Regions from separate parts of the Homo sapiens genome. Here regions 1, 2, 3, 4, 6 and 7 are each linked to region 5. The links are contacts of gene promoters, found by promoter capture Hi-C in blood cells and fetal thymus (Javierre and others, 2016). All regions are on one chromosome and are shown on one strand. Each heading gives the region's core, a stretch centred on a gene start or on the middle of the fragment in contact. The rest is flanking DNA. Distances are from core to core; before and after follow the strand shown. Region 1 overlaps NCOA1 (nuclear receptor coactivator 1). Region 2 holds the start of FKBP1B (FKBP prolyl isomerase 1B). Region 3 overlaps CENPO (centromere protein O). Region 4 has its middle 15 kb from the start of PTRHD1. Region 5 holds the start of ITSN2 (intersectin 2). Region 6 overlaps NCOA1 (nuclear receptor coactivator 1). Region 7 overlaps ATAD2B (ATPase family AAA domain containing 2B).

Evidence for each region. Contacts are between HindIII fragments. The CHiCAGO score rates a contact against its expected background, and 5 or more counts as called.
Region 1: a contact is called between a fragment that was not itself captured here and the fragment with the promoter of ITSN2 in region 5, in 1 of 17 cell types (neutrophils). The highest score is 9.6, in neutrophils.
Region 2: the fragment with the promoter of FKBP1B here is called in contact with the fragment with the promoter of ITSN2 in region 5 in 14 of 17 cell types (erythroblasts, endothelial precursors, fetal thymus and 11 more); the score reaches 17.8 in erythroblasts.
Region 3: a contact is called between a fragment that was not itself captured here and the fragment with the promoter of ITSN2 in region 5, in 8 of 17 cell types (monocytes, neutrophils, fetal thymus and 5 more). The highest score is 7.6, in monocytes.
Region 4: a contact is called between a fragment that was not itself captured here and the fragment with the promoter of ITSN2 in region 5, in 1 of 17 cell types (neutrophils). The highest score is 6.2, in neutrophils.
Region 6: a fragment that was not itself captured here is called in contact with the fragment with the promoter of ITSN2 in region 5 in 1 of 17 cell types (neutrophils); the score reaches 5.9 in neutrophils.
Region 7: a fragment that was not itself captured here is called in contact with the fragment with the promoter of ITSN2 in region 5 in 1 of 17 cell types (erythroblasts); the score reaches 5.2 in erythroblasts.

Annotation. Positions count from the first base shown.
Region 1 is chr2:24,730,998-24,734,384 of GRCh38, forward strand. All of the region lies in intron 17 of NCOA1 (nuclear receptor coactivator 1), which reads left to right. Among named protein-coding and RNA genes, the nearest start is that of PTRHD1, 61 kb to the right of the region's middle. The HindIII fragment of the contact is 3,076 bases long and covers 421-3,387 here.
Region 2 is chr2:24,048,183-24,051,591 of GRCh38, forward strand. FKBP1B (FKBP prolyl isomerase 1B) reads left to right here and starts at 1,559. Exons shown (of 4, transcript NM_004116.5): 1 at 1,559-1,704. The coding sequence starts at 1,668. RefSeq lists a silencer at 1,421-1,720. The HindIII fragment of the contact is 22,874 bases long and covers 1-2,310 here.
Region 3 is chr2:24,812,151-24,815,546 of GRCh38, forward strand. It overlaps CENPO (centromere protein O), which reads left to right. Exons shown (of 8, transcript NM_001322101.2): 4 at 2,226-2,343; 5 at 3,347-3,396. Among named protein-coding and RNA genes, the nearest start is that of CENPO, 20 kb to the left of the region's middle. The HindIII fragment of the contact is 3,568 bases long and covers 279-3,396 here.
Region 4 is chr2:24,776,702-24,780,153 of GRCh38, forward strand. No RefSeq gene overlaps it. Among named protein-coding and RNA genes, the nearest start is that of PTRHD1, 15 kb to the right of the region's middle. The HindIII fragment of the contact is 2,192 bases long and covers 1,098-3,289 here.
Region 5 is chr2:24,358,397-24,361,962 of GRCh38, forward strand. It overlaps ITSN2 (intersectin 2), which reads right to left and starts at 2,140. Exons shown (of 40, transcript NM_006277.3): 1 at 1,908-2,140. RefSeq lists silencers at 1,554-1,953, 1,964-2,013, 2,024-2,323 and an enhancer at 2,424-2,573. The HindIII fragment of the contact is 2,111 bases long and covers 871-2,981 here.
Region 6 is chr2:24,759,264-24,762,691 of GRCh38, forward strand. It overlaps NCOA1 (nuclear receptor coactivator 1), which reads left to right. Exons shown (of 23, transcript NM_003743.5): 22 at 3,424-3,428. Among named protein-coding and RNA genes, the nearest start is that of PTRHD1, 32 kb to the right of the region's middle. The HindIII fragment of the contact is 2,546 bases long and covers 756-3,301 here.
Region 7 is chr2:23,921,796-23,925,189 of GRCh38, forward strand. The region is part of intron 1 of ATAD2B (ATPase family AAA domain containing 2B); the gene reads right to left. Among named protein-coding and RNA genes, the nearest start is that of ATAD2B, 3.6 kb to the right of the region's middle. The HindIII fragment of the contact is 2,762 bases long and covers 574-3,335 here.

The DNA.
Region 1 (3,387 bases), core at 709-3,208, 370 kb after region 5:
ATTACACTCCAGCCTGGGTGACAGAGCAAGACTCTGTCTCAAAAAAAAAAAAAAAAAAGCCAGCTGTGGGAAGGGGGACCTGAGCTGTAGATTGTTGCTGCTTGTTATGAATCTTGTAGTTTCTAAAACCATATTTGTATATTGCCTTGAATTTTTATAAAAGTATTTAAAGAGGTTCCCTGGAGACTTACTAATTCAGGAAGGAAGAGAAAGAAGGAGATAAATTATACTGGAAAGGCAGTATGATGTAATGGTTTTAAGAGTTCTAGTTTCAAGTCCCAGTTCCAAACTTAAGTGGGTTGCCTTAATCAAATGATTTACCTTTTAAAACCTCTAATTCCTCATCTATAAAAAGAGTCTAATAAAGAACTCCTTTCCCTCACTGGTGGTTGTATGGAATAAATGAGACAAAACATGTAAAGCTTGTAGCATAATGCCTGGCATATTGTAGCAGTTGATAAATATTAGCTATTACTATAAAGTTGCATTCAATAAACATAATATGTAATATAAAATGTGCTTCCATTCTGTTTAAAAAAAGGAAGATGACGAAAGAGAAGAGAAAAGGAGAACTAAGAAAGGGAAATTTTTTAAATGATAGAATAACAATAAAAGGAATAATTTTTTAAATGCTAGGGTAGAATAAAGGATTCAAAGAAGAATTAAAGGAAGAGAGAGGAAAAGAGAAAGAGAAGGAATCATAAATGTTCTGAGATATTAATTGAAGATAAACTACTTCTTGTAGCTTTCCATTCATCTTTAGATAGAGGGCACCAGAATAAGAAATGCTTAACAGTTTCCCCGTGTTTAATTTTTCACAGAACATATTTAAGGGGACTACACTAGGTACTATAAGGAATACAAGGAATAAAAGAAACAGGCAACTGCTTGGCTTTTTGACTACAAGACCTGAAAACCATTTTGACTACATACCTGAAAAGTTAAGTGACGCTGCAAGCAGTATGTGATTAAGGGCTAAACCAAAAAAGTAAAGGAAAGTGTAGGTGTGCTAGTTTCTCATTTTACAATGTAAAGTTCTGTAAATACTGCCTAATATTAAAGGGTCAATGAGCAAGGCCAGACCAAGGGTCTAGGTCAGGTTCATGAATGAATGGAATGATGATTCATGCTTGATTCAGAAAAAAAAAGTTGTTTTGGCTTCCATTTGCTCCTAAAACAGCTGATAAGCAGAGAAGCCCTGCAAAGGTATGAGAATAAGATGCAAATAAGTGAAAGTTGCTGCTCTTTGCTTCCCTTAAATCTCATGGATGCCTATCCAGAGATGGCATGGTAACCTAACAGAGTAAAGTATCCACCAAGTTGAAGAAACACAGAATTTGGGGCTCACCATGTTATAAGCCCCATGTATGTCTATACGCAAAAACAACTTCTACTGCAAACTAAGACAGTAACTCTGCTACCTAACGAGCCACATATCGGGGCCTGTTCCTTCTCTTTTAAGCCATAAGTTCTTACTGTTTCAGCACTAGGTCGCTCAGCTTCACTTGCACTGCAAGTACTAGGAGTTTTACATGTGTCCACTTAAGGGCTTTCTGTGAGCAGGTCTGGCCAAGGTTCTCAGTCAGTGTCTTGGTTAAGATGCTTTCAGCCACAAGGAAAGAAAAAAAGATCAACTCAGCATAGTAAAACAATAAAGAAAATATTTTGACCCAATTGACAATCCAAAATGAAAGCAGACCAAGGTGTGGTTACTTCAGAGATTCAGGGATGTTATCAAGGACCCAGGTTCTTTCTCTTTTTGCTCTGCAATCCTTGGCATGCCATGATTACAAATACCGTAGGCAAACAAAACTATAACTAGCAGAAGAAAAGGGACTGTTTCTTTCCTATGTACCTCTTTCCAAAAGCCAGGAAACTTTTTCCAGAAGGTCTTCCCACCCCATCCCCCGCCAAAAAAAGAAAAAAAGGAACAAAAAAAAAAAGTAAAAAGGGGGAAAAAATACTTCACATGTCTGACTAGTCAGAACTGAGTCACATGTACACCCTTAACCAATGGTTCGCAAAGACTGACTGAGAATACTCCTGGATTACCCCTGGAGTTGTGTGATTTGGGATGGTCAGCTGAACAAAATCTGTTCTGTCTTCAAGAAAGAAGGGGAGAGTAAATGGCTGCGGGTTGGCAATAACAGTGCCTGATTAAATCAAGAAATTGAGGTTTAAATATATTGTTTAAAGTTATATAGTTAAATTCACAGTTGGGATAAAATAGTGAACTGAGGTAGTATTAATATATCTCCCCTTTCTCCTGCCTTAAATCCTATTAAATAACAGGTTGTATTTTTTGTGTCTGTGACTAAGTTCATGTCAGTGTAGACAAAAAAAAGAACACCATTAGCGCACTAAAAATTAAGTCATTTTGAAATACAAAAAAAGCAAACATGAGAAAGAAACAAAATTATATGCAAATAATACAACTATTTATATAGAAAATCCAAAAGAATCTGGCCGGGCACAGTGGCTCACGCCTGTAATCCTAGCACTTTGGGAGGCCGAGGCGGGTGGGTTGCCTGAGCTCCGGAGTTCAAGACCACCCTGCGCAACATGGTGAAACCTCATCTCTACTAAAAATACAAAAGTTAGCTGGGCATGGTGGTGCATGCCTGTAATCCCAGTTACTGGGGAGGCTGAGGCAGGAGAATTGCTTGAAACTGGGAGGTGGAGGTTGCCATGAGCCAAGATTGTGCCACTGCACTCCACCCTGAGTGACAGAACAAGACTCCATCTCAAAAACAAAACAAAACAAAACAAAAAACAGAAAATCCAAAAGAATCTATAGGGAACTTAGAACAAATAGAGTAGTTCAGCAAGGATTTTAGATAAAAGAACAAGAAACAAAAATTAATGGCAATTCTTTTTACTAGAAAATTAATTAAAAATACATTCAGGCCAGGCACGGTGGCTCACGCCTGTAACCCCAGCACTTTGGGAGGCCGAGGTGGGCGGATCACCTGAGGTCAAGAGTTCGAGACCAGCCTGGCCAACATGGTGAAGCCCCGTCTCTACTAAAAATACAAAAATTAGCTGGGTGTGGTGGCGTGTTCCCAGCTACTCAGGAGGCTGAGACAGGAGAATCGCTTGAATCCAGGAGGTGGAGGTTGCAGTGAGCCAAGATTGTGCCATTGCACTCCAGCCTTGGTGACAAGAGCGAAACTCCATCTCAAAAAAAAAAAAAAAGAAGAAAAAAGAAATTCACACTGTTCAAAACTTAGAAGATGTGGAAGTCATAATTGAAAGGCAAAAAGAACATCCAAAAAAAAATACTCATGAAAGAAATTATGTCTCCTAATTGGTTGTCGCTTGTAAAAAGATGACAGTTGTTCCAAATTCAATCAGTAAATTCAGTGGAATTCCAATAAAATCTCAACA
Region 2 (3,409 bases), core at 309-2,808, 310 kb before region 5:
CTTTTTTTAAAAATAAAGATGGCATGCCTGTAATCCCAGCACTTTGGGAGGCTGAGGCGGGCGGATAACCTGAGGTCGGGAGTTCGAGACCAGCCTGGCCAACATGGTGAAACCCTGTCTCTACTAAAAATTTAAAAATTAGCCGAACGCTGGTGTCTCACGCCTGTAATCCCAGCTACTTGGGAGACTGAGGCACGAGAATCGCTTGAACCTGGGAGGCGGAGGTTGCAGTGAGCCGAGATTGTGCCACTGCACTCCATCCTGGCGACAGAGTGAAGATTCTGTCTCAAAAAAAAAAAAAAAAAAAAGGAGAGAGAGAGAGACGGGATCTCGCTATGTTACCCAGGCTGGTCTTGAACTTCTAGGCTCAAGCAATCCTCCTGCCTCGGTCTCCTACAGTGTTGAGATTACAGGTGTGAGCCATTGTTCCAAAAATTGATATACTTGGCCTCACATCAATTTTTGGAACAATGCAGGTAATAATGAGGGGGAAAAAATTTTAAAAGTCCCAATTACCCTTTAAACAAATATTACCTCCTCCAAAAAATATTTTTCTAGATTCCTGAATGTATTTTTTGGTGGAGGAGGAACTCAAAGTAGAATTCATTTACATATTCATTCATTCATTCCACAGCACTAATCACTCCATGCAGTAACTGTGTGTCCCCGTCCCTCTCAGACTTAGTACCTGGAAGACAGCCAACCTGTCTTAATTCTATTGGTATCCCCAGGGCGCATTTCTTTGCCTTGAAAATTGAGTACCCAATAAATGTGCGTCGAGCAGAACTACACGAGATGGAGAACAGGGGTTTAGGGGTATGGGGGAGAGTCAGCAATTACTGGTGTCCTCCCTCCCTCCCCCAGCTCTGCTCCTACAGATCCAGGACGCCTAGCGAGGGTAGGAACCTCTTCTGTGCTTCCGCAACGCTCTGAACTGCACGGCACTGAGCGCATCTAATTAAAGTGATGGTTTCATTAGATAGCAACACAGCGAGACCCCGTTTCTACAAAAAATAAAAATAAAAAATAAAAGATTAGCTGGGCGTGGTTGCTCGCGCCTCTAGTCCCAGCTACTTGGGTGGAGGCTGAGGAAGAAGGATCGCTTGAGCCTAAGAGTTCGAGGTTGCTGTGAGCTATGATCGCGCCACTGGACTCCAGCCTGGGCGACAGAGCAAGATCCTCTGTCTAAAATAAAAATAAAAATAAAATGATGGTTTAATCGCCGGCCTTTGCCCCTTCTGCCCCCCACCCCCCACAAGTCTGTAGGACTGGGTTGACTTCCCAGAGCTTACTACAGATTAGATGCTAAATAAATGTCTATTGGACGGATGCGCGAATGAATGGATGGATGGAGGATGTGGTTGTGCTTACCACGCTCCCTGGTCAGTGGGTTAATGTCGTCAGGCGGGGCCAGGCTCGCTAACAGCCGGGCGGGGTCCCTTCCCCCGGGCCCCGCCCCGGCCGACCCCACCTTTCCGCGCGGCTCCGCCCCGCCGCCCCCTTGCCAGTGGCCCCTCCCCGCGCAGGTCCCGACTCCAGCCGCACCTCCTCCGGCTCTGCAGTGGCGGCGAGGAGGCGAGCCGGAGCGACGGCGGGGCTGGGGCCGGAGCCGAGCCGGGGTCGGGCAGCAGCAGGGACCCCCCAGAGGCGGGGCCTGTGGGACCGCTATGGGCGTGGAGATCGAGACCATCTCCCCCGGAGACGGTACCGGGCTCCCTCCGGAGCCAGGGGAGGGGAGGGGTCCCGGGGCGGAGCCCGGAGGGCGGGGGTCTGATTCGGAGGTGGCGTGGAGGGTGCTGAAGGGTCGGGGGGCTGGATGGGGAAGGCAGGCGGAGACGCCGGACGGGATTCTTGGGGGTCTAGGAGACCATCCTCCGCCATCCTCTTCCGCGCTCACCTAGGGGAATGTAGGCGGCAGCTCGGAGGCGGGGGTCTGCGGCCCGGAGGCGGGGGTCTGCGGCCCGCCACCGCCCCGGGCTTCTCCTGTCGCGGCTGCAGTCGTTCGGTTATCCGCTGCTGCTGATACCCCAGCCTGGGTTTCGGCTTCGCTTTCCCTGCCCTACTCGGCGAGCTCTGGAAAGCAGGACCTGCTCTCGGATACCCGCTGCTCGGGGACCTCCTCCTAGCGCGTCCCCCGCCGGGCCTCCCCTCGGTCGCTTCCCTGCGGGCCGGGCTGTGAGCGGCTGTGGGGACAGACCCAGGCTGGGGAAGGGGGAAGCGCTCCCTTGCCCGCTTCCGGATCTCGCTTTATCCTGCCGCCGCTTTCAGACTCCCTGGCCACCCTGTCCACTCCCATGGCCTCCACATTGAAGCTTCTAAGCCCAGCCCTGCGACCTACGGCCGAACCTCTCCCTGGACGTCCCAGGGTGCTCCCTGGTCAGCAAGTCCAAAACAGAACTCTCGCTTCCCACCTTCTCTCCTAAGTGATCCTCTTTATCCCCCTTCCGTGTCTCACTTTCCCAAGTCCTTGTATTACTGGGTCTGGGTGTGCAAGGAATAGCCATTTCTTTATTTCTTGAAATTTAATTAATACCAAAGCCCCCATTGTCTGCAGGGTTTGATGGGCAAACTTCATATCAGATATTATTAATATGAACAGCTCCCCTCCCCAGGAAATTGGATAACTTCTTGGCTCCAGGCCATCTTCCTTGTCCAATCCCAGCCACTACTTCAGATATCCCCTGGAGTACAGGCTTCTTTGCCCACGCAGGAAACATTGCTGCTGGGTCCCAGAAAGCATCTCCCTGAGGCCTTTTCATCCCTCAGCAGCCCCTGAGCTAATCTCCCCATCTTCAGTCTCTCCTCCCTGCTTTCAATCTCGTCCCCAATCTCATATTCACTCCCTTTCTATATCATAGCCTGAAGACTCTTCTTAAAATGCAGTGGCTCACGCCTGTAATCCCAGCACTTTGGGAGGCTGAGGCGGGCGGATCACAAGGTCAGGAGTTCGAGACCAGCCTGACCAACATGTTGAAACCCCGTCTCTACTAAAAATACAAAAATTAGCTGGGCATGGTGGTACGCACCTGTAATCCCAGCTACTCGGGAGGCTGGGGCAGGAGAATCACTTGACCCTGGGAGCCAGAGGTTGCAGTGAGCTGAGATTGTGCCATTGCACTCCAGCCTGGGTGACAGAGCAAGACTCTATCTCAAAAAAAAAAAAGAAAAAAAATGCATGTTTGACTATGCCCCTCCCTCAGGCAGAAGATGTTTTAATGATTCTTCCCTCTCCCCCAGGAGGGGCCTTTGGTGCTATGGTCTATTCTCATCTTCCACACTAGAGCTTCATCTCTCACCACCTGTCCTAAGCCCACCACTAACTTTTTCCTCCAGCTTTCCCAAGCTGCCTGCAAGTTGTCAAACACACCACTCGTTCAGCAAATATTTATTGAACGTGTGTGCTAGGCCC
Region 3 (3,396 bases), core at 813-3,312, 450 kb after region 5:
TATGTTTTTTATTTTTTAAGAGTATATTTGGTGAGTATATAATTAGATATTAGAATTTATTTTCTTTCAAACTTTATATCATTCTGTTGTCTTCTAGGGCCATAGTATCTTGTCAGGTGTGAAGTTTTGGCCTTATTAGTCAGGTGTTAATCTTATGTTTGTGAATATAATATGTCTTTTTCTTCGGGCTTAAGATTTTCTTTGTCTTTGGTTTTTAGCAATTTTAGATCAATGTGGCTAAGCATGATTTTTTTTTTTATCCTGTTTGGTGCTTGTAAAGCTTCTTTAATTGATGTTTTTCATCTGTTTTACAACATTGGCCAATATCTCTTTAAATAGTGCATCTTCTCAGTTTTTCTCTATTTCTGGGGCTCCCATGTATGGGTGTTTTTGTTTTTGTTTTCTGTGACCTATGTCTTAGTAATTTTCTAATCTTATTTTTTTCTCTGTACTTTAATCTGGATATGGAAAATATGCCTACTTTCCACTCCACGTAAGATCTTATTTGTCTAGTTGGCTTTTAAATCTATTAAAATTCTAATTTGAGTTACTGTATTTTTTTGGTTCTAAGATTTCCGTCTCATTCTTTTCTGTATAGATTCCAGCTCTTTGGTCTGGGTTTCCATCTTTTAGCCTGTTTTAATGGCCATGCCCCATTATTGAAATAGCTGAATCCCTTGGCATCTGTTCTGTTGTCTTCTTTTTCCTCTTGGCTTTCAGTCATCTGTTTCTCTTTCCTGGTATGCCTGTAGTTTTTTTTTTTTTTTTTTTTTTAATTCAATGATGAGTATTGTGTATGAAAAAATATACGGAGGTCAGGTGCTGTGGCTCACGCCTGTAATCCCAGCACTTTGGGAGGCCAAGGCGGGTGGATCATCTAACGTCAGGAGTTCAAGACCAGCCTGGCCAACATGGTGAAACCCTGTCTCTACTAAAAATACAAAAATTAGCGAGGCGTGGTGGCGCACACCTGTAATCCCAGCTACTCGGGAGGCTGAGGGAGGAGAATGGCTTGAACCCGGGAGGCGGAGGTTGCAGTGAGCCGAGATTGTGCCATTGCACTCCAGCCTGGGTAACAGCAAAACTCTGTCTGGAAAAAAGAAAGAAAGAAGGAAAAATATATGGGTTCTGAGTATGTTATCTTCCTCCAGAGGAAATTTTAGTGTTTTTCTGGCAAGTAGATCGTGTATGGGCACATCACCTTTATTCAGTTGAGGTGGTCTATTTCCGGTTTCCCTTACTCCTAGGGCTTAGCTTTTTTTAGGACCTTCAGTTGAAAGTTTGGGAGTGTGTTGGAGATGGGTCTATTAAGGCTCCTGTTCCCTGGCAGGCCCTGAAATCCACATTTTGTTCTAGCAAAATCTCTGCTTGGCTTTTTCCCCTTTAGCAGCTTCTTTCCGTTTGGTTTCTCAGTCCCCAGTCACACCTGTGCAGCTTAGGAATTAGCAAATGCCGGGAGGGAAGATTGCAAGCAGAACGTTGAGTTCCTGTTTCTATGGAATCTTGGCCCGTAGAAAGTCTGCTTTGATACCATTAATGTCCAGTGTTTGTTCCGGATGAGACTGCTGCGGAGTCTAGTTTATGCCTTTCTATGTGGCCCAGTGTGCCTTGCATATGAATAAGGAAATGCTCTGAGGCCAGAGGCTGCAGGGAAGCCAGCTCAGAGCATTTGTCAGTACTCTCCAATCCTGGCTATTTGGATCCTTCTGGAATGCCTTCAAACCATTTGCTCTCTTTGCTTGCTTGTTTCTTTTTGGTATTTTATCCAGCTTGCATAGTTGTTCTCAGAGGGCGGGTCAGCCTGGTACCTTCTGCTGGGCCATAGCTAGCAGCGTAAGCCTTGGAGCCCTGGCACTTGAAACCCCACACTGTCCAAGCACAACTTACCCAGCCTTGCCTCTTCACAGCCACCTGTTGTGTCCACCCTGTGCTTAGCCTAGACTTTCCACACAACCTTTTCTTGCTGCTCTCTCAGTCCTGTCCATTCCCATCAAAAATCGAATTGTTCTTCAGACCTGTACAGTCTCCACTTCTGATTCCTGGCATTGTGACCCATGAGATTCTTCCTCTGCAGTGAATTCATAGCAATAACTGACCGGCCACTGTAGCATTTCTTGATGTATTATATCATGTGCCTTGTATTTAGCTTTCATCCAGTTGGGGGAGGGCGGGGATGTTGTAGTGTACCTCTTTGTACCAAGATTGATTTGCTGCATATCTTGCAGGTGAAAGCATGTATTGCCAATGTAGAACCCAACCAAACAGTGGAGATCAATGAGCAAGAAGCATTGGAAGAGAAATTGGAAAATGTGAAAGCCATTCTGCAGGCATATCATTTTACAGGTTTTGTTTGTTTTTTTAACCTAATTTAGTCTGGGTCTGCCTCTAGTGAGTTAGTTTGCTAGATGTGTTATCAGTCCTGGAATTATTTCATAATTTATAGTATTTTACACCCTCTGCCCTCATCACTCACACACACACACACACACAGACACACACACAGCTGACGTGCTATTTGTAGGCCTATCTTCACCTACAAGATTGACTGGCCCCTTTGTACAGCAGCTCAGTTGGTGGCTGGCTTATTCCACTCATCTTAACAGTTCGTCATGTGCCAGACCTTGTACTAGAACTGTCTTTACTGCTGGCTTGTTTTCTGCCACTAGTGAAATAGTTTGAACTTTCCAAGTCTCCGTTTCACCGTAAATAGGGATTTATTCTCCCATCTATGCCACAAGATAGTTGTGGGAAGAACTGGGGACTCTGACAAATTACTTCACACTCAGAAATAAAGAATAGCTATAAATTAAATTTTTGGCCTTGCTTATGCCTGTAATCCCATCACTTTGGGAGGCTGAGGCAGGATTACTTGAGTCCAGGAGTTCGAGACCAGCCTGGGCAACATAGCAAGACCTCATCTCTACTAAAAATTTAAAAATGAGCCAGGTGAGGTGGCATGCGCTTGTGGTCCCAGCTGTTTGGGAGGCTGAGATGGGAGGATCATTTAAGCCCAGGAAGTTGAGGTTGCAGTGAGCTGAGATCGTGCCACCGCACTCCAGCCTGGGTGACAGAGTGAAACCCTATCTCAAAAAAAAAAAAAAAAAAATTTCTCAATAGTTTGACATTTAGGTTGTTTTTTCATTTTTACCATTCTTCCATGGTTTTAACAACTCAGTCTCAAAGTGAGCCGGAGCCAAGGGGAAGAATGAGCCTATGATACTCATTGAACAAACATTTGTGTACAAAGTGTACATATTCTAGGCACTGTGGAAGCTACTGGAGGCACAGATGAGTAAGACATCACCTTGGCCTGCTGTCTATTGAGGTGTCTTCTTGTTTGCCTCAGGCCTCAGTGGTAAACTGACCAGCCGAGGAGTTTGTGTCTGCATCAGTACT
Region 4 (3,452 bases), core at 944-3,443, 420 kb after region 5:
CTAAATTGTAAGCCTCTTAAAGAAGAGATACACACACTCCTACCACCCCTAGCCTCCCGCCGAACCTTCTACATAGTAGGATCTTAAATGCTGGTTGAAGAAATAGACTCAAAGGCAATATTTCAAATAAGGGAAAATTGCTGTGGGTAGACTGGCACTGAGTTGTCTCCCTAGAGTCTGGATTGTTGAGCTGATAGAAGGTTGCAGACTTGTCTAAAAGGTCAAGACAGGATTTTGATTTCATCTTGATGACTATGAAACGGCATCACCATCTAGGGTAAATAAATACCCAAGATTCGTTGTCTCATGGCCACGGAAAACTAGGATGCAGACACACCAAGAGTGAGGTTCAGAGCAGAACCTTAATAGTTGGAAGAAAGAGAAAAACTCTCTCTGCTGCAAAGAGAGGGGTCCCGGAGAAAATGGGAAATGGTTTGCCACTTCTGCAGTGAAATGCATAAGGTTTTATAGATGAGCTTGAGGAAGAGGTGTCTGATTTACATAGGGTGTACAAGATTGGTTGGACCAGCTGTGCCATTTACATAGCACACAAAAAGCTGGTGAGAACTGTAGGTGTACCATTTGCATAGCATGCAAAGAAGGTGGTTGTCCCACACTAATCTTTTATTATGCAGACGGGTTCTCTAACTGGCCTGCGCCATGTTACCTGGTTCTTTACACATGGTGACAAAGGGAAGCTGGAGCCTCCATGTTGAGCATGCCTGGCCCTCAGGTGGCCCTTTTTTTTTTTTTTTTTTTTTTTTTTGAGATGGAGTCTCACTCTGTGGCCCAGGCTGGAGTGCAGTGGCGCAATCTCGGCTCACTGCAAACTCCGCCTCCCGGGTTCATGTCATTCTCCTGCCTCAGCCTCCCAAGTAGCTGGGACTACAGGCGCCTGCCACCACGCCCGGCTAATTTTTTGTATTTTTAGTAGAGATGGGGTTTCACCGTGTTAGCCAGGATGGTCTCGACCTCCTGACCTCGTGATCCGCCCACCCTGGCCTCCCAGAGTGCTGGGATTACCAGCATGAGCCACCGCTGCGCCCAGCCCAGGTAGCCCTTTTCTATTGGCACAACTGGCAGCATTCACCCATGCAAGCTTCCAGCTTGCTTATCTATGACTGCAGTTTGATTTTTCAGGCTGTTCTTTGTTAGAAAAGAAATGATTGTGGGGGGGGCTGCTTTTTGTTAAAAGGGAAAATCCGTCAAGGACTCTGTTGCCCTCACTATCTACCTAAATAATTTCTTTCTAGCTCCTGTATCAACTGTTTTTTGTTTGTTTGTTTGTTTGTTTTCATAAAAGGTGAGTGAATACAAGTCCCTTTCACTAGGAGTTTCGAAATTCTCACACTCTAGGAGCCTCTACATCGTTGGAGAATTTACAGAACATTAGCAGTTATCTGCAATACTTCATCAAGCTCTCAGCTTTATAGATGATATATGCTTGGGTTAAACCCTTTCCACTTCTCCGAAATTACCCTCTCACTGAAAATCAGCTGATTGAGTTGACTACCATCTTAACTGAGAAAGTAGGAAAGGCAGATCGGTGAGACAATCACTTCCAGTCTTCCCTACAAAAATGAATATATAGTATAAACCAAAAAGTGTCTGAGACAGATCTCAACTGATTTAGAGGTTTACTTTGCCACAGTTGAGGTTGTGCATGGGAAAAAGAAATACAAGTTACAATAGGATCTGTGGCCTGTACTGTTTTCAAAGATGGTTTTGAGGACTTCAGTATTTAAAGGGCAAAGAGTGGACAGAAGGGGTAGGAGGAAAGAGAAAGGGGGAGGTTAGGTGGTAAGGCAAATCGTTACATTCTTGTGAGGCTTTGATTAGCACTCACTGAATTCACATTTTACGTTTGAAAAGACAGGAGTAGGGGAAAGTCAATTATGCATTTTTCCTGCACTCAATAAATCTTTATTTTTTTCTTTTCTTTTCTTTTCTTTTCTTTTTTTTTTTTTTGAGACAGGATCTCCCTCTGTCACCCAGGCTAGAGTGCAGTGGCATGATCTCAGCTCACTGCAACCTCCACCTCCTGAGTTCAAGCAATTCTTGGGCCTCAGCCTCTTGAGTAGCTGGGATTACAGGCATGTGCCATCACACCTGGCTAATTTTTTGTATTTTTAGTAGAGACGAGGTTTTGCTGTGTTGGCCAGGCTTGTCTCAAACTTCTGGCCTCAAGTGATCTGCTTGCCTTGGGATTACAGGCGTGAGCCACTGTGCCCAGCCATTCCTTTTACACATAAGGTAAGGTCAGCATGTGAAATCACAGCTATCTGTTTAAGAATAAAAGGAAGGAAGTTTTTGTGTGCTTCAGTTCACAAGTTTAACTTTCCCTTTAGCACAGTGAGTTTGGGGGTCCCCAAATTTTTCTTTTCTTTTCGTATGTCCTATTCACTCTTTTACCTACAATAAAATGCTGCTGAGAAGCAATTCATGTTGAAATTAAACAAGAATAAGATGGCTCCTTGTGAAATTTCTATCAGTTTGGCCTTTAAAACCAATGCCTCTAAAAGCTGAGTGACTTAACTCAGAAAGTGAACAGAAGGGACACATCAACAAACAGGCTGACCTTCCTCTAACAGGAACAAAGGTCTTGCCTGGAGTTTCCTTCCTCATTCCTGAAGAAGCATTCCAGCCCTGCTCAGTTCTGCTGCTTTTTCAAGTCCAAAGTAATTTATCACATACCTGCCTATACTTAACTTTAGGCTACATATTTCCTGATCATCTTCCTTTTTGCCTTGCAAACTTCTATTTTTAAAAAAGCATAAATTGGCCGGGCACGGTAGCTCATGCCTGTAATCCCAGCACTTTGAGAGGCCGAGGCAGGTGGATCACCTGAGCTCAGGAGTTCGAGACCACCCAGGGCAACATGGTGAAACCCTGTTTCTACTAAAAATACAAAAAAATTAACCGGGTGTGGTGGTGCACACCTGTAGTCCCAGCTACTTGGGAGGCTGAGGCAGGAGAATCACTTGACCCCCTGAGGCAAAGGTTGCGATGAGCTGAGATCGCGCCATTGCACTCCAGCTTGGGCCACAGAGTGAGACAGTGAGACTCCATCTCAAAAAAAATTTTAAAAAAAAAGCATAAATTTTAAAAATTAGCTTTCCATTTTAACATTCTTCTAATGTTAGCAATTATACTTTAAATAATAATTACTTAGCAAGCTAGACTTTAAGCAAAACCATCTGGGGAAAAGCTCCCTATAGAGCACACCCTATTTAAAGACTCGCATGACTCTGAGCTTAGGCTTTAAATTTTCATCCTACCTTCAGTTGAAAGCTTCTAAATAGCTTTTTATTAAGGAAATTTCTAAGTGTCTGTGAAAGTAGAAAGAATAGTATAATGAACCAGTTCTAGGTTTTTAATCAGTCTTTTGGTATGTGATTTTTATAACCCCAAGTAAAGAGATGACTTCAGTCACTTTATTCATTACCAGCTCA
Region 5 (3,566 bases), core at 890-3,389:
GGCCTTAGTGAGCTTTAAATGATTATGTAAAACACTTAGCATAGAGTCTAACATGCAGTTACGTGCTCGATAAATGACAACCATGGTAAACATATTTTATACTGAAGAAAGTATAGTTGAAGGAGACAGCCAATATGTGACCCTTTTGTCTTACTAAAGATGGAAATTTGTGAAACTCTACATTAAAACTAAAAATCCTAAGGTTACATGATTTTCTACTTTTTAAAAAAGATATACTAACTACATAAGGTTAAAGGATTTTTTAAAATAAGAAAGAAAAAAAGAAAAGCTTCTTGAAAGCTGCTGAGTTTGGGTGATGGGTACATGCTATTTTTGTGAAAATACAAATTTTTTAACACTATTAATCCAATCCCCAAAACATGCCTAACACACCTCCTCATATTCAGGAGAGATCAAGATTTTAGCCTTGAGATGTACCGAACAATGGTAACTCCCTGCTTAGTAATTCTGTACAGGTCAAGTTTTCTTGGACGAGTTTACCTTTCATTACAAAGGTGGGCACAGGGAATAGTTATCAATGCATGGAAGGGTGAAAAAATGCAAGCTTTTCAACTGCTTATTAATATTACATCAAAATAGCAGCAATGCACATTTTTTCCACGTTTTCAAAAACATAAAATACATCCACTTTATTTACTTTTGAAATTACAAGAGAGTCACAGGCACAGCCAAAAAAAGCTAAAGGAAAACACATCAGAGTTGTCAGTATCTTTAAATTTGGAAGGACGTCATTATTAATTCGCGTAAATGTTTTATGCGATGTTTCTAGGTAGCTTTTAGGTTTTATCACTGATTAACAATATAGCAAACCAGCACAGGGAGAGAGGCAATTTTTCGAAACGCTTAAGAAGCTTTAAACTACAAGAGCTATGCTACCTAAACTGAGCTCACTAACAACGTAAAATTTCAAGTCACACCTTGCCTATTTCTGAGTAAGCAAGCAAACACTAGTGAGACAAACTAGAAGCATGGAGCAAAGCAAGTCATTTCTATGCTAACCTTAATTCCTATCGTAAAGGGGTTGGCTCCATCAAAAAATATTCCTATTTCAGTATTAACACAAGTTTCAAATAAAGCACACTTGCCATTGGTAATTCTAGAGCGACAAGGCGCATAATTAATAAATCCAAACGGAGCATCTTTCTATAGAATACAAAGCCATCTGCAGTTTCAGCCTCGGTTTACCCACTCACTATGCATATGCAGACGTCTTTAAAAATAAATAAATAAATACACAAATAAACTTTATCTGGCCTGAGAGATTACATCTCTCGGTGCTTCCTGTATATTCTGGAAGTCAATAACGCTGAAGGTAAATTTAACATTTCCAACTCCGGAGGAACGCGAGCGGTAGACGCCAAGCATCCGCCCACTGTCCTCTCGTGACTCGGGCTACTTTGACGCACCGGGATGCGGCTCACCTGACATTCGGCACCAACCCTTGCCAGGAAGGAAAACCAACTCCGCGAAAATAAAATGGGTCCCCGAGGAGGCGTGCGGGTGCCCCCAGAGCTCTCTTCTGCTCACACCCCGAAAGCGAGGGGGCCACGCCACCCCCGACCCTCGCCGGCGTCCGCCACCTGCCAGACGAGGCCGCGGCCAGGGACCCGGGCTCGGCCGCAAGGAAGGGGCAGCCCAGCCCAGGCCCCCTCGGCGTCTGTCCCGGCCCGGCAGCAGAGGAAGGAACCCGGGGCCGGAGGTTTCCGCCCCGCACGGCCGAGCCCGCCAGGGGCCTAGCTCGGGGGCCGCCCGTACTCCCGAGGACCCGTCCCCATCGTGCGGAGCGCACAGCCGCCTCAGCCCGACCCGCAGAGCCTCCGGGCAGCGGGCGCGGCGCCCGCACCTGCCCCGCGCCTTGCTGCAGCCCCGCTAGCGGCTTCACCCACCTGGCGCCCTCGCCGCGCCTCCCGCTCGTCACAGCGCGACTCCGCGTCCCTCAGCACCGGCAGCCTGGGCGCGGGCAGGCGCGGGGAGACCCTGCTCTGCCGCCGTCGCCGCCACTGCAGCTGGCTTGGTCGTCAGGCCGCCGCCCGCGAACCTGTTGCGTAGCCTGTCACAGCCGCTCAGGGCTCCGCCGGCGCCGCCTCAGCCCCACAACAACATGGCGGCCGCGGCCTCCGCAGGAAGCCGGGGGGCGGGGAGGTAGGCGCCGGGCCGGGCAGCTGACGGCCCGCCCGCTGCCGGGCACCGACTCCCCACCCTCCGGAGCCCGAAACTGCCCGGGCGTGGCTCCTCGCCCCAGGAGTTCCGGGGCATTGAACCCTGAAGGTCTGCTCCGAGTCGGTCGGGTCCGAAGCGCTCCTCTCTGCCCTCGGGGAGGCCCCGAAGCCCCAGACCTGGCAGCCCTTCCTGGAGTTGCACAGACCCACCTGGCTCCTCCTCCCCGAGGTAACATGCTGAGCTTGGGTGGTGCTTTTCCTGCCACGGCAGACGCCGGGGTTTTGGAAAGTCCCAAGCAGTGCCTGCCACATCCCTGTTGCACCCACCACGGGGTTCTCCCTGGAACCTTCTCACTCGCCGAAGTTTTCTCCACTGATCTGGGGGAACGAATTCTCTGGGAATTGGGGGGTGGAAGGTGGGAAGGAGGTTGATCCCACCCTTGCCCATGGGTCTGTTACAGGCCTCTTGAACCCTTCTCAGGGACCTGGAGGACTTAACCATACCCTCGGTCATCCATTCACCATTCCTCGCCCTCCTCCATAACACACGCGGAGCGCCCACGAGGAGCACCCTCTACGCTAGTCACACTCCGCCGAGCAGTAGGAAGACTCTGTCCCCATAGAGCATAGCACGACGAAGCTAAACTTTCCTCCCCACCCCTCGCCAAGGGACAGGCGAAGCTCCTACTCAGAATTTGTCTCTTTTCTCCCCTCCCGGTTCCTGGTCTCCTCACAAAAGACCAGACTTCAACTCAAGCCGCCACCGTATCCCAAAACCCCAAAGGTTTGCCCTTGACAAGAAGCTTCTTCAAGGGGAAAGGCTTTCTTTTGATTGGGGTGAGGGAGGAGTTAGTGTTTCCTAATGAACGTAACCAAATGTCGGCCTGGCACAGTGGCTCACGCTTGTAACCCCGGCACTTTGGGAGGCCGAGGCAGGTGGATCATCTGAGGTCAGGAGTTGGAGACCAGCCTGGCCAACATGGTGAAACCCCGCCTCTTCTAACAATACAAAAATTAGCTGGGCGTGGTGGCGGGCGCCTGTAGTCCCAGCTACTCGGAAGGCTGAGGCAGGAGAATCGCTTGAACCTGGGAGGCGGAGGTTGCAGTGAGCAGAGATTGCACCACTGTACTCCAGCCTGGGCGACAAGAGCGAAACTCTGTCTCAAAAAAAAAAAAGTAACCAAATGTAAGACTCAAGATTTTTGGATATAAGACCCAAGATTTCTTTTTTTTTTTTTTTTTTTTTTTTTTTTTTTCCTGAGACAGACTCTCACTCCGTTGCCCAGGCTGGAGTGCAGTGGCGCAACTGTGAGATCTGTGCTCACTGCAACCTCCGCCTCCCAGGTTCAAGCAATTCTCCTGCCTCAGCCTTCCAAGTACCTGGGA
Region 6 (3,428 bases), core at 779-3,278, 400 kb after region 5:
TACTGAGGGCTTAAAAGAAAAAAGGCCTGGTCAAAAAAAGGCATTATGAAAAAGTTGCCTAAACAGAATAGAAAAAGAACATTCAAGATTGGTTATCACAGCATGACCTAGGCAGGATAGGAGTTGAAAGCCTAATTAATGTTAAGGGGATATTTATATTTTATTTAGAGAAGAAGTAATGTGGTAAGCTTTTTTGATATGTTGCATGCCATCTAAGTGTGTGGAATTTATCCTGGAGCCTCTTACATATTTTTAGAAGAGAATGAATAAATTCAAAACAATATTTAAGATTATTGCAATAACTCTCTATAGTTGCTATTCTCATTATTCGTATCAGCAACCACAAAGTATGCTATAGTAACTAGGCTATTACCATGCAGCCATCATTTATAGGCAATCATAAAAATATATAAACACCAATTACCTTTTTTATCTTCAAATGATACTATATCACCTCATGTATAGAGGTGTATATTATATCACCTCTATATCACATGAGGTGATATATGTATGTATAGAGGTATAATATAATGTATAGAGGTATATATAATGTATAGAACCTCATTACAATTTATTTCTATTTTGTCCCTCCTGTGCTACTGTTGTCATACATGTTATATTTATATATGTTCTGTTCCCTGCAATTTATTATTTTTTCTTTAGTCAATTATAAATTATAAATTTATAAATTCTACTTACAAATTTATAAATTAATTATAAACTATAATTGACTATTTAAAGAAAATTTAAATAAAAGCTTTTTTATATTTACCCACATAGTCACCACTTTAAATTTTCTGCATTCTTTTTGTAGTTCTAAATTTCCATTTGGTATTATTTTCCTTCTGCCTGAGGGTCTTGCTTTAACTTTTTTTTTTTCTTTTTTTTTTTTTTGAGATGGAGTCTCGCCCTTTAGCCCAGGCTGGAGTGTGGTGGCACAACCTCAGCTCACTGCAACCTCCACCTCCCAGGTTCAACCGATTCTCCTGCTTCAGACTCCCAAGTAGCTGGGACTACAGGCACCCGCCACCATGCCCGGCTAATTTTTTTTTTTTTTTTTTTTTTTTGTATTTTTGGTAGAGATGGGGTTTCACTGTGTTAGCCAGGATGGTCTCAATCTCCTGACATCATGTTCTGCCCGCCTCGGCCTCCCAAAGTGCTGGGATTACAGGCGTGAGCCACCGCGCCCGGCCTTGGCTTTAACATTTTTATAGTGCAGGCCTGCGGCTAATGAGCTTTTCTATGTCTGAAAAAGTCTTTCACCTTCATCTTTGAATGTTCTTTCCCCTAAACTCTAGCTTGGCAGTTTTAGCTTTCAGTACTTTAAAGATGTTGCTCCACTACAGTGTTGCTGATGAGACATCTGCTGTCATTTTATCTTTGTTCTTCCATGTATGATTGATGTTTTTCCCCTCTGGCTGATTTTGATTTTTCTCTCCACCACTGGTTCTAAGTAATTTGATTATGATATGCTTCAGTGTATTTTCTTCATATTTCTTATTCTTGGGGTTCATTGAGCTTCTTGATTCATTACCATATAATTTTCATTAAATTTTGGAAAAAATTTTTTGTTGTCGTTTTTTGTTTTTTTGTGGTTTTTTTGAGACAGAGTCTCACTCTGTCACCCAGGCTGGAGTGTAATGGCGCAGTCTCCACTCACTGTAACCTCCACCTCCTGGGTTCAAGCAATTCTCCTGCCTCAGCCTTCTGAGTAGCTGGGAGTACAGGGGTGCGCCACCACACCCAGCTAATTTTTATGTTTTTAGTAGAGACGGGATTTTGCCATGTTGGCCAGACTGGTCTCAAACCCCTGACCTCAGGTGATCTGCCCACCTCGGCCTCCCAAAGTGCTGGGATTATAGGCGTGAGCCACCACACCCGGCCAAATTTTGGAAAATATTGATCATTATTTCTTCAAATAATTTTTGTCACCATCCTTATTCCTCTCCTTCAGAGACTTCAGTTGCATGTATAGTGCACTTGAAATTGTCTCACATTCACCGATTCTCTAGGTTTGGGGGCTTTCGAGCACTGGGATGAGGTTCAGTTATTTTTTTCTTTGATTTTAGAACATTTATATTACTGTAGCCTCAGGTTCACTAATTCTTTATTTTGCAATATCTAATCTGTTTATACAGTGTATTTTTCATCTCAGACATAGCAGTTTTCATATCTAGCAGTCATATTTGGATCCTTTTTATATCTTCCATATCTCCAACATTTTTTTCATATCTGTTCAGCCTTTCCTCTTATTTCTTAAACAAATGGAATATGGTTATTATAATTGTCCTGATATTTCTCACCTATCAGTTCTATTATCAGCATCATTTTTGAATTGATTTCAGTTGACTTCCCTTTTCATTATGCATCATATTTTTCTGCCTCTTTGCATGCCTGGTAATTTTTTATTGGATGCCAGACATGAATTTTACCTTGTTTATATTCCTACAAATATTCTTGAGCTTTGTTCTAGGAAATGGTTACTTGGAAGTTTGATCCTTGCTTTTTTGTTTACTGCGACCAAAGCAGTATTTTTTCTAGGGCTAATTCTAACCTTACCACCAAGGTAAAACCTTTAATATGCTACATGATACTACATGAATTACGATGTTTTCCACTCTGGGGGGTGAAATCAGGGCTTATTCCCAGCCCTGTGGGGACTTTGGGAATTGTTCCATGTCATCTATTCAGGTGATTGTTTCCCCTGCATCTATAAGCTGATTAGTACTGAGCTTCAGACTTGAGGGCCACTGCAGATCTATTCCAGAGCTCTCTCTGATATTCTGCTCTGAGGATTCTAGCTGCATCCCCTTAACTCAGGGAGCCTGCCAGGCGCTGCCTGGATTCCCTTTGTCCATGATACAGCCGGAAATACACTCCAGGCAGTAGGCTGGGCGGTTGCCACAGTAGGGACTGCTGAACTGTTAGGGATCACTGTCCTTCGTTGCCTTTGTCTAATGTCTTCAGTGCCTTTTTTTCACATATTTTGTCAATTTTTTTAGCTGATTGAGGCAGGAGGATAAGTCTGATCCCTGTTACTAAATCTTGACCAAAGTGTGAGTCTACCACTAATTAACATATGTATGTGTGAATTAACTTTTTATTAAAGTATCATATATAAGAATATAGAGAAAAGTGTACAACTCAATAGATTTTCACAAAGTGAACACACCTGAGTACCACTCAGATCAAGAAACAGAATGTCATCAGTACCCCAGAGGTTCTCCTTGTGTCCCTTACACACTCACTACCCCACAAGGGGAATGACTATCCTGACTTGTAACAACACAGTTAATTGCTAAGCTTTTCATTTTTGCTGTGCTCCTATTACTTTTCTGTCAGTGAGATTGTTTTTCATTGGAGAATTTGGTTTTCAGTTTAAACAACTAGCTTGTAATTTGATCTTGTATTTATCTTTAATAGATAAA
Region 7 (3,394 bases), core at 705-3,204, 440 kb before region 5:
CCTATATTGTACTCCATGTAAATCTGATACAGTATAAGGAAAAACTTGCTCTGTTCTGATGAACTTATATTTTCCCCTGCTCATCTGAGAGTTACACACATTATGAGATTTCCCTCTCAGACTTCTTTTACCTCTTTAACCCTCAATTTCGACCACTCTGCTTTGTTATGTTGGCAAACGCATGAGTGTTAGAAAAGGAAAAGCACAAGGTGATAAAAGTATACTAAAGAAGGACCTAGGGATTTTTTTAATTAAAATAAAAATAAAGTAATACAGCATTTTACTTCTAAAGTTACTCAAAATATTTATTTTGATCTCACAAGATGGGGACTCAGAGTCAATGACTATCTCAAAAAGCCTAAAAAGCTAGTGAAAAAGCCAGAAATACCAGCAAACAGACCTAACAATTAGGAGAAGTAGAAAAAAAGAGTTGAAATAATTTTCAAAGATTGCTGTACAGTTTTGTGAATACAGTATTAGATTGTTTACTAGGAGTGACACCTAGGTGGAGCAAATAAACGCTAATGACTGAGGGCCAGATTAACTGATCTAAAAGGGGTCAAGCTTTATGAAAGCTTGGAGCAAAACAAAAGCCACAGTATACAGGAGTAATCACATCTAACTGCATAGCACTAAAAAACAACCTGATATTTTAAAAGTGTGGGCATTGTGGGTAATGATAAGAGAGGAAAAAAAAATAAGAAAATTTAAAAGTGAGGGCACAAAGGCAATCTACAGATTAAGAGAAAAATCTGCAAACCATATATCTGATAAGCAGTTAATTTCCAAAATACATAGGGTACTCCTACAACTCCAAAGGAAGAAAACATTTTTTAATGGGCAAAGCAGGATTTTAAGGCTGCAGTGAACCACTCCAGCCTGGGCATCAGAGTAAGACTCTGTCTCAAAAAAAAAAAAAAAGGGTCCTAACTAAACAGACACCTGTCAGGTATATAAAAAGGTGCTCAACATTACTAATCATCAGGGAAATGCAAATCAAAACCACAATGAGATATCACCTCACACCTGTCAAAATGGCTCTTGTCAAAAAGACAAGAGACAACAAATATTGGGGAGATGTAGAAAAAAGGGAATCCTGGTACATGTCAGTAGAAATGCAAAATGGTGCAGCCACTATGGAAAACAGTATGAACGTTCCTCAAAAAATTAAAAATAGAACTACCATATGATCCAGCAATCCCAACTTCTGGGTATTTATCCAAAGGAATTGAAATTAGGATTTCGACGGACATCTGCACTTCCATGTTCGCAGTAGCATTATTAATAGCTAAGACATGGAAACAATCTAAATGTCCAAAAAGAGATGAATGTAGAAAACGTGGTGTACATGTGTGCATGCCCAGTGGAATACTATTAAGCCTAAGAAGGAAATCCTGCCATTTACAACAACACAGATGCACCTAGAGGATGTTACACTAAATAATATGTCAGTCCCAGAAAGACAAATACTGAATGATCTCACTTATCTGCTAGTTTAGTGGAATCTAAACTAGCAAATTCACAGAAGCAGAGAGTAGAAGGGTGATTGCCAGGGTCTTGTGGGGGGACAATCAAGTTTCACTTATGCCAGATAAGTTCTGGAGATCTATATAGCATAGTGCCTACATCTAAGAATACTGTATTGCATACTTAAAATTTTCTAAGAGGGTAGATTTTATATCAAGTGTTCTTACCACAAAAATAATACTAATAATACATTCATAATAAAAGGGACAGGGAAACTTTAGGAATGACGGACATGTCTATGGTGTTGATGCGGTGGTGTTTTCACAAATATATACTTATCTCCAAACTCACAGAGTTATATACACTAAGTACCACCTTTTACATGTCAAAAAAAAAAAAGGCTTTTCATACCGAAAAAAAGAAAAAGAAAATAATTCCAATAATCGGCAGAATGCATATTTTCCCCCATCCTATGCATATACTACTTGGGAAAAAGACAAAACTTTAAGAAAAGCTCATAGCGCTATGACTTTTTAAAGCAAATAAAATGTCTCTGGACACAGTGAATGAAATAATCTAAAAACAGGGAAAAGGGGGAAAAATAGGCATCAAGTGTAGTTAGTTAAGAACATGGCACAGGCTGGGCGCGGTGGCTCACGCCTGTAATCCCAGCACTTTGGGAGGCCGAGGCGGGCTGATGACGAGGTCAGGAGATCGACACCATCCTGGCTAACACCGTGAAACCCCGTCTCTAATAAAAATACAAAAAAATTAGCCGGGCGTGGTGGCGGGCGCCTGTAGTCCCAGCTACTCGGGAGGCTGAGGCAGGAGAATGGCGTGAACCCCGGGGGGCGGAGCCTGCAGTGAGCCGAGATCGCGCCACTGCACTCCAGCCTGGGCTACAGCGAGACTCCGTCTCAAAAAAAAACAAACAAACAAACATGGCACAAAAGCAGAAAAAGGAGAAACTCCTCAATTACAAACAGGAATATTATGTTACAAACAGGAATACATTTCTTTCTACAAAAATAAGGGTCTGCGAAAGCAACAACACGGGCAACCCCATTTTGCACCAAATGAGACTTTACAGACACTGGCAAATGCTTATTACAGACCCCACAGACATAGAGGGTGTCTTTAAGTACTCCAGAAAGGGTGAACCAGGAGTGCTAAATTCCTACAAAACTGGAGAAGAGCTAACCAGAAATATACAACCTGCTTCATAAATATATAGTCCATAAACTTAATAAATTCAGAATTATAATTTATCCTCTTCTAAAGGTCCAATCACTATGTAAGAGTAGTTACGTCTCTAAAAAAACCTTTCAGAGAAAGCAATTAGATGACTACATCATCTCCTAGAGCCGAACATAAATCTTCTTAAGACTGAAAAACAAATATTTCAAAGTAAATCTTTAGTACCCTGTTATTTATGGTGCTTTAAAACATTTTAAAAGGATCTTTGAAACAAAGTTTCATTAGTACCCTTCTACAAAGAGCTCTCATATCTTTCATTCTTTTAGCAATTTAAAAGCTACCAAATGTTCATTTCCTCATTAGATTATTGATTCCTAGCCTTTTAACATCTCTATAACAGCTGCTTGACAAATTACCTCACCTTATTCCTCGGGGGGTGAGGACAGCATGATATCCATGAATTCAAAAATGGGACCACAAACTGATGAGTGAAGATGAGCTAATTGCTTCAGATGAGTTAGACACTGCTCTAACAGACTAGGCATTCACATAGCATGATACGATTAAATGCTTACACCCTAAATATTTTCTTTGTCCTTAAATGTACAGAAAAGATCTTTTCTTAAATTGAGTTTTATTTTAAAATATGTGATAGCCTCAGTAGGTCAAGAAGCTTGAACATGTTTGGAATAGTTTCCACCGAAAGCCTCGTCTTCAAAGTACTTATTCT